3 separate regions of the Homo sapiens genome follow, and regions 1 and 3 are each linked to region 2. The links are contacts of gene promoters, found by promoter capture Hi-C in blood cells and fetal thymus (Javierre and others, 2016). All regions are on one chromosome and are shown on one strand. Each heading gives the region's core, a stretch centred on a gene start or on the middle of the fragment in contact. The rest is flanking DNA. Distances are from core to core; before and after follow the strand shown.

Region 1 (3,488 bases), core at 5-2,504, 420 kb after region 2:
GGCCAATCAGAATATTCCATTCTCCCTGGCTGCTATGATTGGTTCATAGGTGGGCTGTGGCCTAAGCTGGGCCAATGAGAGCCAGCCCTGGGACTATGGCTACAGTTACTGAAAGTGGTATGTTTTTTCTCCTGCTGTTGCCATTCTGGTAGAATGTGAGCCTGTCCCTGCCGAGGGCCATCTTGCTTCAGAGCCTGCCTGAGAATAAAGCCAGTATAACGAAAAGCAGAGACAAGAGATGTATAAAATAAAAGTTCCTGGGTTACAAGGTTGGAGCCCCTGGATCTAACCATACCTGAAGGTGAATTTTCAATAAAGTCCTGTTTTGTTTGGTTTTTTTTGCTTAGACTACTTTGTGTTTCTGTCAATTGCAATTGATAGAGGTCTGCCTAATATATTTGGAAAGGCCTGAGTCCCTGAGAGAGAGGGATTCCACATCTATCCCAACCTGTGTGTGTGGAGGGAGTGTATCCAGGCAGCTGAACAACGGTACCAGTGATATAGGTATGGAGTTAACAGGGGAGTAAAGCTGGCCCCACTGGTCCTTTTGTGAGAAGGCTTAGGAGAAGGATGGGAGCCAGAGAGCATTAGACAGGGAACCCTGCCTCGACCTCTTCCTTTGGTCCCTGTTCTTCCCACCCAGGGAGTTCCTCACCTTTGACCTGGACGGTCAGTTCTGCCTGGCGAGCTCCTAGGGCATTGGTGACGTTGCAGATTAAAGTTGTGTTGATTGGTTTGTCCACAGGACGGATCAGGAGCTGGGCGCCCTGGGCCACAGCAAAGGGTGGCAGGGGACCCATGGTCCTGGGAGAGACAGAAAGGTGAGGAGGTGGCCTCTGCTGCAGGTCCGGAGTGACAGTGATTGAGCACGCACTACGTGCCCAGAAACCCTCACGCCCTCTATAGCATAAGCGGAGAGCAACTCTGGAGGCCCCCCAACTCTTCCCTTCCTCTCATGCCCACACCCAACCCATTAGCCAATCATGTCGGCCCCGCCTTAAGATCCATCCAGAATCCCACCTCTCCTCAGGGCTTCCACGGTACCTCCCTGCTCTGGCGCTGTGCATCCCGGCCCCCAGCAGCCGCCTCCACGCTGGGCTCCGTTTCTGCCCTCGCCCCCTCGTCTGTTCCCCACATGGCCACCAGAGGTCGCCTGTGAACCCTAAGTCAGTTCCCATACCTCAGCTCAGTACCCTCTGGGGGCCTAGCCTGGCTCAGAGTTAAACCGAAGTCTTCTGGTGTCACAGGCCCCACGTGATCTGGCCCCTGCTACCTCTGCCCACGTTTTCCATTACTCTCCCCTTTGCTCCCGCCTCTGCATCCACAGTGGCCTCTTTGTTGGTCCTCAAACTCTCCAGTTAGGTGTCCAGGGTGTTTGCTTATGCAGGGACTGATGGATAGAAATGGGTTTGCCCATGCTGTTCCCTCTGCTGGAATGCTTTCCCCCTAGGCACCCGCAGAGCTCACCCTCATCTCCTTCAGGCCTCTGCTGGGATGTCACCTTAGTAACACCTCACTTGGCCACCCTATTTCAACTGTGATGATCACCCTTCCCATCCCCTTCTCTTTAATTTATTTAATTATTATTTTTTTGAGACAGCGTCTCACTCTGTCACCCAGGCTGGAGTGCAGTGGCACCATCTTGACTCACTGCAACCTCCACCTCCTGGGTGCATGGAATCTTCCCACCTCAGCCTCCTGAGTAGCTGGGACTACAGGTGCATGCCACCACACCCGGCCAATTTTTGTATCTTTTTTGGTAGAGATGGGGTTTCGCCATGTTGGCCAGGCTGGTCTTGAACTCCTAGCCTCAAGTGATCCTCCCATCTCTGCCTCCCAAAGTGCTGGGATTACAGGTATGAGTCATGGCGCCCAGTCCCATTCCCTTCTCTGCTTTGTCTTCTCCATGGTATTTATCACCATTGCACACACACTACACACTTTATCTTGCTTCTTGTTTCTTTCACCACTAGAATGGAAGCTCTATATGGGGAGGAAATTTGGTCTGTTTTATCGACCAACGTATGTTGGTTAATTGCACCCGGCACACAGTAAGTAGTCAAGGAACACTGGTTTAATGAACAGAGGTGGAGGAGATGGAAGCATCAGGCTTTGGGTGCTCCGCAGAGCTGGGATGCAAACGCAGCTATCTGGCTCAAGAGCCTGAATTGCGGTGCTTTGAGGCAGGACAGTAAAGGCACCATCACACCAGTTGAAAACCTTTGACCGGCAATTCCTTCCACGGACAACTGCTGACAAGTGACCAGTGGGGATGGACACCACCATGGCATTTGCAGAGTTGAAAATGGAAAATGACATCTGTGTCCTCTACTAGGGACTGGTTAAATAACTGATGACATCCACATATGTTGGAATCCCTTCCCTGCCCTTTGGGAGGCCCAGGTGAGATGACTGCTTGAGTACAGGAGTTCAAGACCAGCCTGGGCAACATAGTGAGATCCTGTCTCTATTCTTTGAATTTTTTTTTTAAAGTGGTGGAATCCCAGCAACACTAAAAAAGGGGCCAGGTTAGCCAGGCGTGGTGGTGTGTGCCTGTAGTCCCAGCTATCTGGGAGGCTGAAGCTGGAGGATCGCTTGAGCCCAGGAATTCAAGGCTGCAGTGAGCTGTGATTGTGCCACGGCACTACAGCCTGAGCAACAGAGTGAGGCCCTGCCTCAAAAAAAAAAAAAAAAAAAAAAAAGCAGGAGAGCTGGGGGTGCTCTGAAATGCATAATATGATTGATGGATGAATAGAGGGACTGAAGGAATCACAGAAACGTGATAAAGCAAGCACAGTAAAATGTTAGCAGGGGAATCCACGTGGTGGAATCTTAAGTGTTCACTGGAAAATTCCTATGATTTTTCTGTATGTTTGACAGTCTTCCTAATACAACGTGGGGGAAAATGGAGTTGTGGATCTATGTGCTTTGACATGGAAAGGTATTCACAAGACAGACGAAAAGGTTCAAAATTATATGTACAGCATAATTCCAGTCTTTGTTTAGAAACAGAGAGAAAAAAGACAGGATGTATAATAAGGGGTCACTGGGTATTTCTGGAGGTGGCTGGGTACACTTGAACTATAGGCACTACTTTCTTCTTTTTGCTCATAACTAAATTGTTTGATATTTCTACAGTGGACACAAGTTATTTTTGTAATAAGGAAAAAGACCTAAGGCTGGGCGAGGTGGCTCACGCCTGTAATCCCAGCACTTTAGGAGGCTGAGGTGGGTTGATTGCTTGAGCCCAGGAGTTGCAGACCAGCCTGGGCAATGTGGCAAAACCCTGTCTCTGCAAAAAAAATACAACAAAATTAGCTGAGTGTGGTGGCGTGTGCCTGTAGTCCCAGCTACTCAGGAGGCTGAGGTGGGAGGATCACCTGAGCCCAGGGAGGTCCAGGCTGCAGTGAGCTATGATCACGCCACTGCACTCCAGCCTCGGCAACAGAGCCCCTTCTTTAAAAAAAAAGGGCGGTTCAGTAAAATTA
Region 2 (3,555 bases), core at 755-3,254:
GGGGGTAGAAGGGACAGAATAGGGTAAAATGAGCAAATATGTAAACAAGATCCTTCAGGGTTTGATCAAAGTGATGTATAAAGAATAAAATAGGCCGGGCACGGTGGCTCACGCCTGTAATTCCAGCACTTTGGGAGGCTGAGGCGGGTGGATCACCTGAGGTCAGGAGTTCGAGACCAGCCTGGCCAACATGGTGAAACCCTGTCTCTACTAAAAATAGAAAAATTAGCCGGGCATCTGTAATCCCAGCTACTCCGGAGGCTCAGGCAGGAGAATCACTTGAACCCGGGAGGCGGAGGTTGCAGTGAGCTGAGGTCGTGCCACTGCACTCCAGCCTGGGCAACAAGAGTGAAACTCCATCTCAAAAAAAAAAAAAAAAAAAAAGAGTAAAATAAGGGCAATGGGATAGTGGGTGGCTGGGTTGCCATGGAACTTAAAATTGGGTGGTCTGAGGCTGAGTGCAGTGTCTCACACCTGTAATCTCAGCACTTTGGGATGCTGAAGCAGGAGGAGCGCTTCAAGCCAAGAGTTTCAGACCAACCAGGGCAACAAAGCGAGTCCCTGTCTCTATTTAAAAATAATTTTTTTTGAAAAATTAAAAATTACAAAAAAAAAAAGGGTGATCAGAGGAGGCGGCAGTGAAGAAGAAACCACCTCAGATAACCCTCTAGTTCCAACCTGCCCTACCTCCTTTGACAGATGGAGAAAGTGAGATCCAAGAGGGAACTGGGGACAGATGGAGGTCATGGAGTGTAATTTGCAAGGCCTTCAGCAGGGTGGGGCTACTTTAGATACTGTTGGTCAGGGCCCTCTGCTCTCAGGAGGACAATGGAACCCAGACCTGAATAACAATGTGCAGAACTCCAAGAGATCAGCATCTGAAATCAGCATCTGGGCTGAGGACAGCTGGGGGAGGACAGGTTCTTGCCCTGACCTCAGGGGGCTTGCATTGGGTGGGGGAGAGGACAGTCCACAAGCCGTTCTATACTGTCGTGCAGTCGGTGCCAGGAAGAAAAGAATACTCATCAGGGATTGAGGGTGGGGCAGGGTGTCGATGCCACTTCAAACAGTGAGCAGACAGAACTGCTTAGGGGAGGGAAGTTCAAGGAGGCGGAGTGGAGGCAGGTGAGCTGCTTGGCTATTTGGTTTTAATGGCGACTTCTGGTCTAGGAACAGAGTCGATGTGTATGATTACAGTCCTCCTCTGCTCAAAACCCTCCTAAGGCTCCGGTCTCAGGAAAACCAAAAGACCTTAAAGCGATCAAAAGATTGCTTGGATCTGCCCCCATATTTTCACTGAACTCAATCCCCAACCCGTATTGCCTCTCCCTTTCCTTGTAATTCCTCAATGCCCAGGCCCACTGGCTGGGCTTCCTTCCCTCCAGCCTCAGCTCCACCATGCCCTTTCCCATCATAGGGGAGAAAATTGAATCCCTCAACCCCAGTAACCCTCTCCGCCTTTCCAGCTTTCTTTTGCTCCATGGCACTGGTCATCATGAAGGGCCATCTATATTTTACGTAATTATGTTTATAGTGTCTTCCCCCACCGTCTGAACTCCGTGCAAACAAAGATTATCTTCTGTTTATTCCCTCCTGTATTCTCAGGGCTTCAAACAGAGCCTGGCGCACAGGAGGCACTCAGTGAATGCTTGCAAAATGAATTTTTATTGTAATGCATTTAATGAAATAGCCCAGATTACTATCAGGCACCTAATAAGAAACGTGACCGACTATTTTTCTCGCTTGGGGGTGCGTGTGGGCATGCCGTGTCTCAGTTTCACCCGCCCTAAAACGGGATCAGGGATAGCTGTTTCAATGCCTTGTGGGAACTCGGTGTGATTAAATTTGGTCACTAAGCCAAACGCACGGGACACTGCCTAGATTGAGTTAGGCCGCCGTCAGGGCCCCAGCAGGGCGGCTCGGTCCCCTCCCATGAGCCCCGCCCTGGTAGGCGGAGCCACGGGCCCGGCCAGCACGTGTAAGAGTTCGCGGCGGGTCGCCGCAGTCACTCACCTGAGCGCGCACGGTCCGCGCGTCCTCCGCTCGTGCGTCCTCCGCCCGCCCGCCTGCCTGCCTGCCCGCCCGCTCGCTCGCCCGGCCCGCGACTCATGTCCCGCCGCAAGGCCGGCAGCGCGCCCCGCCGAGTAGAGCCCGCGCCCGCCGCCAACCCAGACGACGAGATGGAAATGCAGGACCTCGTCATCGAACTCAAGCCCGAGCCAGACGCGCAGCCCCAACAGGCCCCAAGGCTGGGGCCCTTCTCCCCGAAGGAGGTGTCCTCGGCGGGGCGGTTCGGCGGCGAACCCCACCACTCCCCTGGCCCCATGCCCGCCGGGGCCGCCCTCCTCGCCCTCGGCCCGCGGAACCCGTGGACCCTGTGGACGCCGTTGACCCCGAACTATCCCGGTGAGCACCCCGGGCCCTGGGCCCAGCCTCCCTTACCTTTGACCCTCGGGTGGGACCCTTCCCTTTGGGCATGGGCCCCTCGCCCTGCCTTATCTCCTTCGCCCCGTCCTGCCCCTCAGGCCCCCTTCTGACCTTCGGTTTCCCCTCTCCTTCAGCACCCTCAGCCCCCATCCTGGCCCCACCCCACGCTCACCACCCGCTTCCTCCCTGCAGACCGCCAGCCCTGGACCGACAAACACCCAGATCTGTTGACCTGCGGCCGCTGCCTGCAGACCTTCCCGTTGGAGGCCATCACTGCCTTCATGGACCACAAGAAGCTGGGCTGTCAGCTCTTCAGAGGCCCCAGCCGCGGCCAGGGCTCAGGTGAGTAAAGCCGGGTGCAGTCCCCCTCTCAAGTTCGAGGGCTGGGCTTCCTGCTGGAAAGGGGCTGGGCTGGACGGCAGGGCACTGAGCACTACTTCCCCTTTCTCGCTCCCCATCGGGTGCAGCCTAGGCGTGGCCAGGGCCTGCCCGTCCTAGGGCAGGGACCAGTGGTGGCGGTGGAGGGGGGGCGGGGGGGGACTGGGCAGGGAAGGAGGGCCGCCTACAGGGTGTGGCCAGCCCCAGAAGACTAGCCCGGGATTTTGCCCCCCCCAACACACACCCCAACCTGGTTTCACTTCTCCTTCCCCTTGGCCAGAAATAACTGGCCAGGTGGCTGGACCAGGGTGGCAGTAGGAGGGGACCTCTAGGGAGGGCAGCGGCCGGGGGGAGGGGGAGTGGAGGCCAGCTGGAATGGGGAGGTTGCCACCCCCTCCTGTCTCTCTCTGTCAATTCTGATTGAGGTGCTAGTACAGCTGAGTGTTCAGAGCCAAGGAAGGGGCTTCTGGCTTCCCTCGGTGATGGAATCTCCCAGCCCCGCGTGCTGGGAATCCCCTGGTTTGAGCGAGCTCCCGGGTGCTGGACACCCGGGTTCCTTCTCTTGGGAGGGAATTAAAAGCCTTCACATGGGGCTTGACCCTCGGTGAGCTTTTGGTCAGTGTTGGCTGCAGGGCTTAATCCAAACCTAGTTTCCAGCCCCCTGGCCCTTGCCCTTCTGAGACTTTTGAGAAGTGGAATTATTTAGGGTTGGGCCAGGGAGGGTCTGGTGGTGGGAAAGAGGAGGGGCTT
Region 3 (3,559 bases), core at 1,060-3,559, 270 kb before region 2:
AGGGGTTCCTCGGGGTGGGGTGAGGGGGATGGGACCTTCTCTCGGATCTCCAAAGCGCGCTGGCACAGGGGCTCTGCCTCCCGGTAACGCCCACGCTTCCCATAGAGGACAGCCAAGTTGTTGAGCGTGGCGGCCACCTGCGGGGTTGGGGGAGGCACAGGTCAGGGATGGGCAGGTGTGGCCCCACTTTGACCCCACTTCGTCTCCCTGGGGCCCCACTCACCGCGGGGTGCTCAGGGCCCAGCGTCTGCTCCCGGATCTGCAGGGCATCATGGAGAAGGTCTGTGGCTTCTTTGTACTTGTTCTGGTCCCTGTGGGGGGCGCCCCAGGAATGGAGGGGGTTAGCCAAGGGTTGGGGCAGCTGCAGCCACAGGGGCTGGGCCAATCCTGACAGGCCCAGGGAACCTGGCTGAACCAAGCATGGGTGGCACACCCTTTGAGGGCCTTTTGTGGGCCCCTCCATATTTCGCAATTCTCTAACACTGGGCCCTGTACCCCCAGACCTCTGCCAAGCTTCTAGCCACCCCAGGTCTCCTGCCTGCTCTGTTGGGGTCCCTGGTGTCCGTGCTCTCTGACTCCTCTCTGCCTGGCTCAGTGGCCCCCCCAGATCCCTGTCCCACTCCCTCTTTGCCGTTCTCACAGCAGGAGCCTTCCCTTCCTTTCCCATTCTTGCTGTCCCCTCCCCTGACCTCCCTAGGTGCTCCATGGTGACAGAGGGGGCACCAGGATCCTTCCACTTGCACCCAATGGGTCCCTGCCGTTCCTGCCCCCAGCCATGGCTGGCCGCAGTGCTCACCGGTACACCAGCGCCAGGATGTTGAGCATGGTGGCCACGTCAGGGTGGCAGTGGCCCGAGCTGCGCTCCAGGTCCTCCAAGGCCTGGCGGCACAGAGGCACCGCCACCTCATAGCGGCCCTGCCCCGCGTACTGGATCACGAGGTTATGCAGGGTCCGAAGGCGGGCAGGGATCTCATAGCCACCCTGCTGAGCAGCTGCTGCTCCTGCGGCCTCAGGACCTAGGTGGGGTGGGGTGGGCTCTGGGTCACTGCAAGCCTCCTGCCCCTCCAGCCTCGCATGAGGGGACACGTGCCTCAGAACTGCCGGACTGCCTAACTGGCCCCTGGGACTATGGGCCCCCACGCTAACTTCTGAGATAGGAGTCACTAGCATCTAACCAGCTGGTGGGATGCATCCTGGCCTCGGGACAGGAACACGGCAGCCCACCTGCCCTGTGGGATGTGAATACGGGGCCTGCCAGGCTCATAGCGGCTACCCTGTCTTTGTGGCTCCCAGCCTCACCTGCACTGTCACATTCAGGGTCCTCCTCACCCTGCCCTCACCTCCCCATCCCCTGGCTCAGAGATTTTGGGGTCCTGCAGCTCAGAGCCCCCTCCCCACCCTGGCCTGCCATCCTCTGTGGCATGTACTCCCAACACCCACCTTTCCTCTCCTCCTCCTCGCTGGGGAACAGGGAGGCCAGGCTGTCTCGGCGAGGCGGGGACTCAGACTGCTGCAGAGACAGGAAAGTGGGGGGCCGGGGTGGTGGGGGCTTGTTTCAGAGACCGGGGCCCTGGCTCTATCTCAGGTTTTTGTTTTTTTGTTTTTTTTTTTTTTTTGAGACGGAGTTTCGCTTGTTGCACAGGCTGGAGTGCAATGGTGCGATCTTGGCTCACAGCAACCTCCACCTCCTGGGTTCAAGCCATTCTCCTGCCTCAGCTTCCGGAGTAGCTGGGATTACAGGCATGTGCCACCACACCCGGCTAATTTTGTATTTTTAGTAGAGACGGGGTTTCTCCATGTTGGTCATGCTGGTCTTGAAATCCGGACCTCAGGTGATCTGCTCGCCTCGGCCTCCCAAAGTGTTGGGATTACAGGCGTGAGCCACCGCACCCAGCCTATCTCAAGGTTTGAGGGAGGTGGTGGTCACGAGCGTCAGAGGCCCCCTGGGGGTCTGGCGAGGCTCGGGGGCTTCGTGGAGTAGCTAGTGGGGGCGTCTGTGGAAGTTCTGGTGGGTCTGGGGGCTCTGTGGAGGGTTGGGGGACTGTGGCATTCTAAGGAGGGTCTGGGGGACTGTGGGATTCTAAGGAGGATCTTGGGGACTGTGGGATTCTAAGGAGGGTCTGGGGGACTGTGGGGCTCTATGAAGGGCCCAGCACCCCCCGCCTCGCCCTGCCCGTGGCACCTGGCTCTCCGCCGGTGGGTCGTACTGTCGCAGCTGCCCCAGGAACTCCAGGTGGCGCTTCTCCTCCTCCAGCTGGGCCACGGACTCCTCGCTGGCCCGAAGCCGCCGCTGCGTCTCCTCCAGTTCCTCCCGCAGCCACACGTTCTCCTGGGCCAGCCGCCGGGCCTGCGAGCGCAGCCGCTGCTTCTCTGCCTCCAGTGCACCCACATGTGCCGACAGGGCCAGCAGCACCTGCCCGGGGTGGGGGTCCCAAGTCGAGGTTGGTTCCTGCCCTGCCAGACGGCCCCTGACCCAGCCCAGGCCTCGAGTCAGGCCGTAGCACCCCACTACTATGCACGACACCCCCAGATTCTGCAGAGACTCTGCCAACATGGCCCCAGTGCCCTCAGAGGCTCCCAGGGGCCCCTCTGATTTTACCCCCAAACTTGCCCTAGGACCCACAGTTTACTGAAGAATGCCATCTGGTTCAGGGGTCCCTGTCACACACAAGGACCCCCTAAAGCTGCCAAGGGACTCCATCTCTGACCTGGAGCCTCCCCTTCCCAGGCCTGGTTCCCCTAGGCCTCCCCCTGCCCCGGATGTGCCTCTCTGCCATACTTTTTTCTGTTGTTTTTTGGGACAGTCTCTCTCTGTCACCCAGACTGGAGTGGAATGGCACGATCTCCACTCACTGCAACCTCCGCCTCCCAGGTTCAAGCGATTCTCATGCCTCAGCCTCCTGAGTAGCCGGGATTACAGGAGCCCTCATGCCCAGCTACTTTTTGTATTTTTAGTAGAGATGGGGTTTTCCCATGTTGGCCAGGCTGGTCTTGAACTCCTGACCTCAAGTGATCTGCCCACCTCAGCCTCCCAAAGTGTGCCCCTCTGCAATAGTGAACCCTCTCCCAGTCCCCTACATACCTGTCCCCCTCATGCCTGGCCCTCCCTCCGCCCTCAGCTGACCTTCCCCCAGCTCCCCACCTGGCCCCCTCATACCTGGGCCTCGCCCAGCCCCAGCTCGATGGCCTCCAGCGAGTGGCTCACCACCTGCTGCTTTTCCTCCAGCATCTCCAAGCCGGCTGCCGGGCCCTGTCCCGCCAGGGCCTCCGCCAGGTGCCCAGCCAGGCCATGGTGCTCTGCCCGCAGCGCCTCCAGCCCCTGGACCACTTGCCGCGTCTGCCGCACCAGCTCCTCAGGGCTCAGGCGCTCTGGGCCCAGCCCTGCACTTCCAGGAGCCGCTACCTGCACAGACATTGCTGCTCCTGGGGAGCAATGGTGAGGGGTTTGGGGAATCATTGCCCGGGCCAGTCAGTTGGCCCCCAGCCTCTATTCCCATAATGGCCATCAGGACCCCTAACTTCTCCCCATCCTGGCTCTTCCCTGCTCCACCCATCCTGG

What was found. Contacts are between HindIII fragments. The CHiCAGO score rates a contact against its expected background, and 5 or more counts as called.
Region 1: a contact is called between a fragment that was not itself captured here and the fragment with the promoter of ZNF296 in region 2, in 1 of 17 cell types (naive B cells). The highest score is 5.3, in naive B cells.
Region 3: a contact is called between a fragment that was not itself captured here and the fragment with the promoter of ZNF296 in region 2, in 1 of 17 cell types (endothelial precursors). The highest score is 5.2, in endothelial precursors.

What each region holds. Positions count from the first base shown.
Region 1 is chr19:44,655,078-44,658,565 of GRCh38, reverse strand. PVR (PVR cell adhesion molecule) reads right to left here. Exons shown (of 8, transcript NM_006505.5): 5 at 656-804. Among named protein-coding and RNA genes, the nearest start is that of MIR4531, 3.1 kb to the right of the region's middle. RefSeq lists a silencer at 1,828-2,028. The HindIII fragment of the contact is 5,268 bases long and covers 1-3,488 here.
Region 2 is chr19:45,074,927-45,078,481 of GRCh38, reverse strand. ZNF296 (zinc finger protein 296) reads left to right here and starts at 2,004. Exons shown (of 3, transcript NM_145288.3): 1 at 2,004-2,406; 2 at 2,620-2,769. The coding sequence starts at 2,109. It also overlaps a transcript of GEMIN7 not described here. RefSeq lists silencers at 1,808-2,217, 2,308-2,547, 2,878-3,187. The HindIII fragment of the contact is 16,244 bases long and covers 1-3,555 here.
Region 3 is chr19:45,345,398-45,348,956 of GRCh38, reverse strand. KLC3 (kinesin light chain 3) reads right to left here. Exons shown (of 13, transcript NM_177417.3): 2 at 3,158-3,423; 3 at 2,183-2,413; 4 at 1,441-1,510; 5 at 797-1,016; 6 at 224-311; 7 at 36-137. The coding sequence starts at 3,415. Among named protein-coding and RNA genes, the nearest start is that of KLC3, 6.4 kb to the right of the region's middle. RefSeq lists a silencer at 2,132-2,426. The HindIII fragment of the contact is 3,588 bases long and covers 516-3,559 here.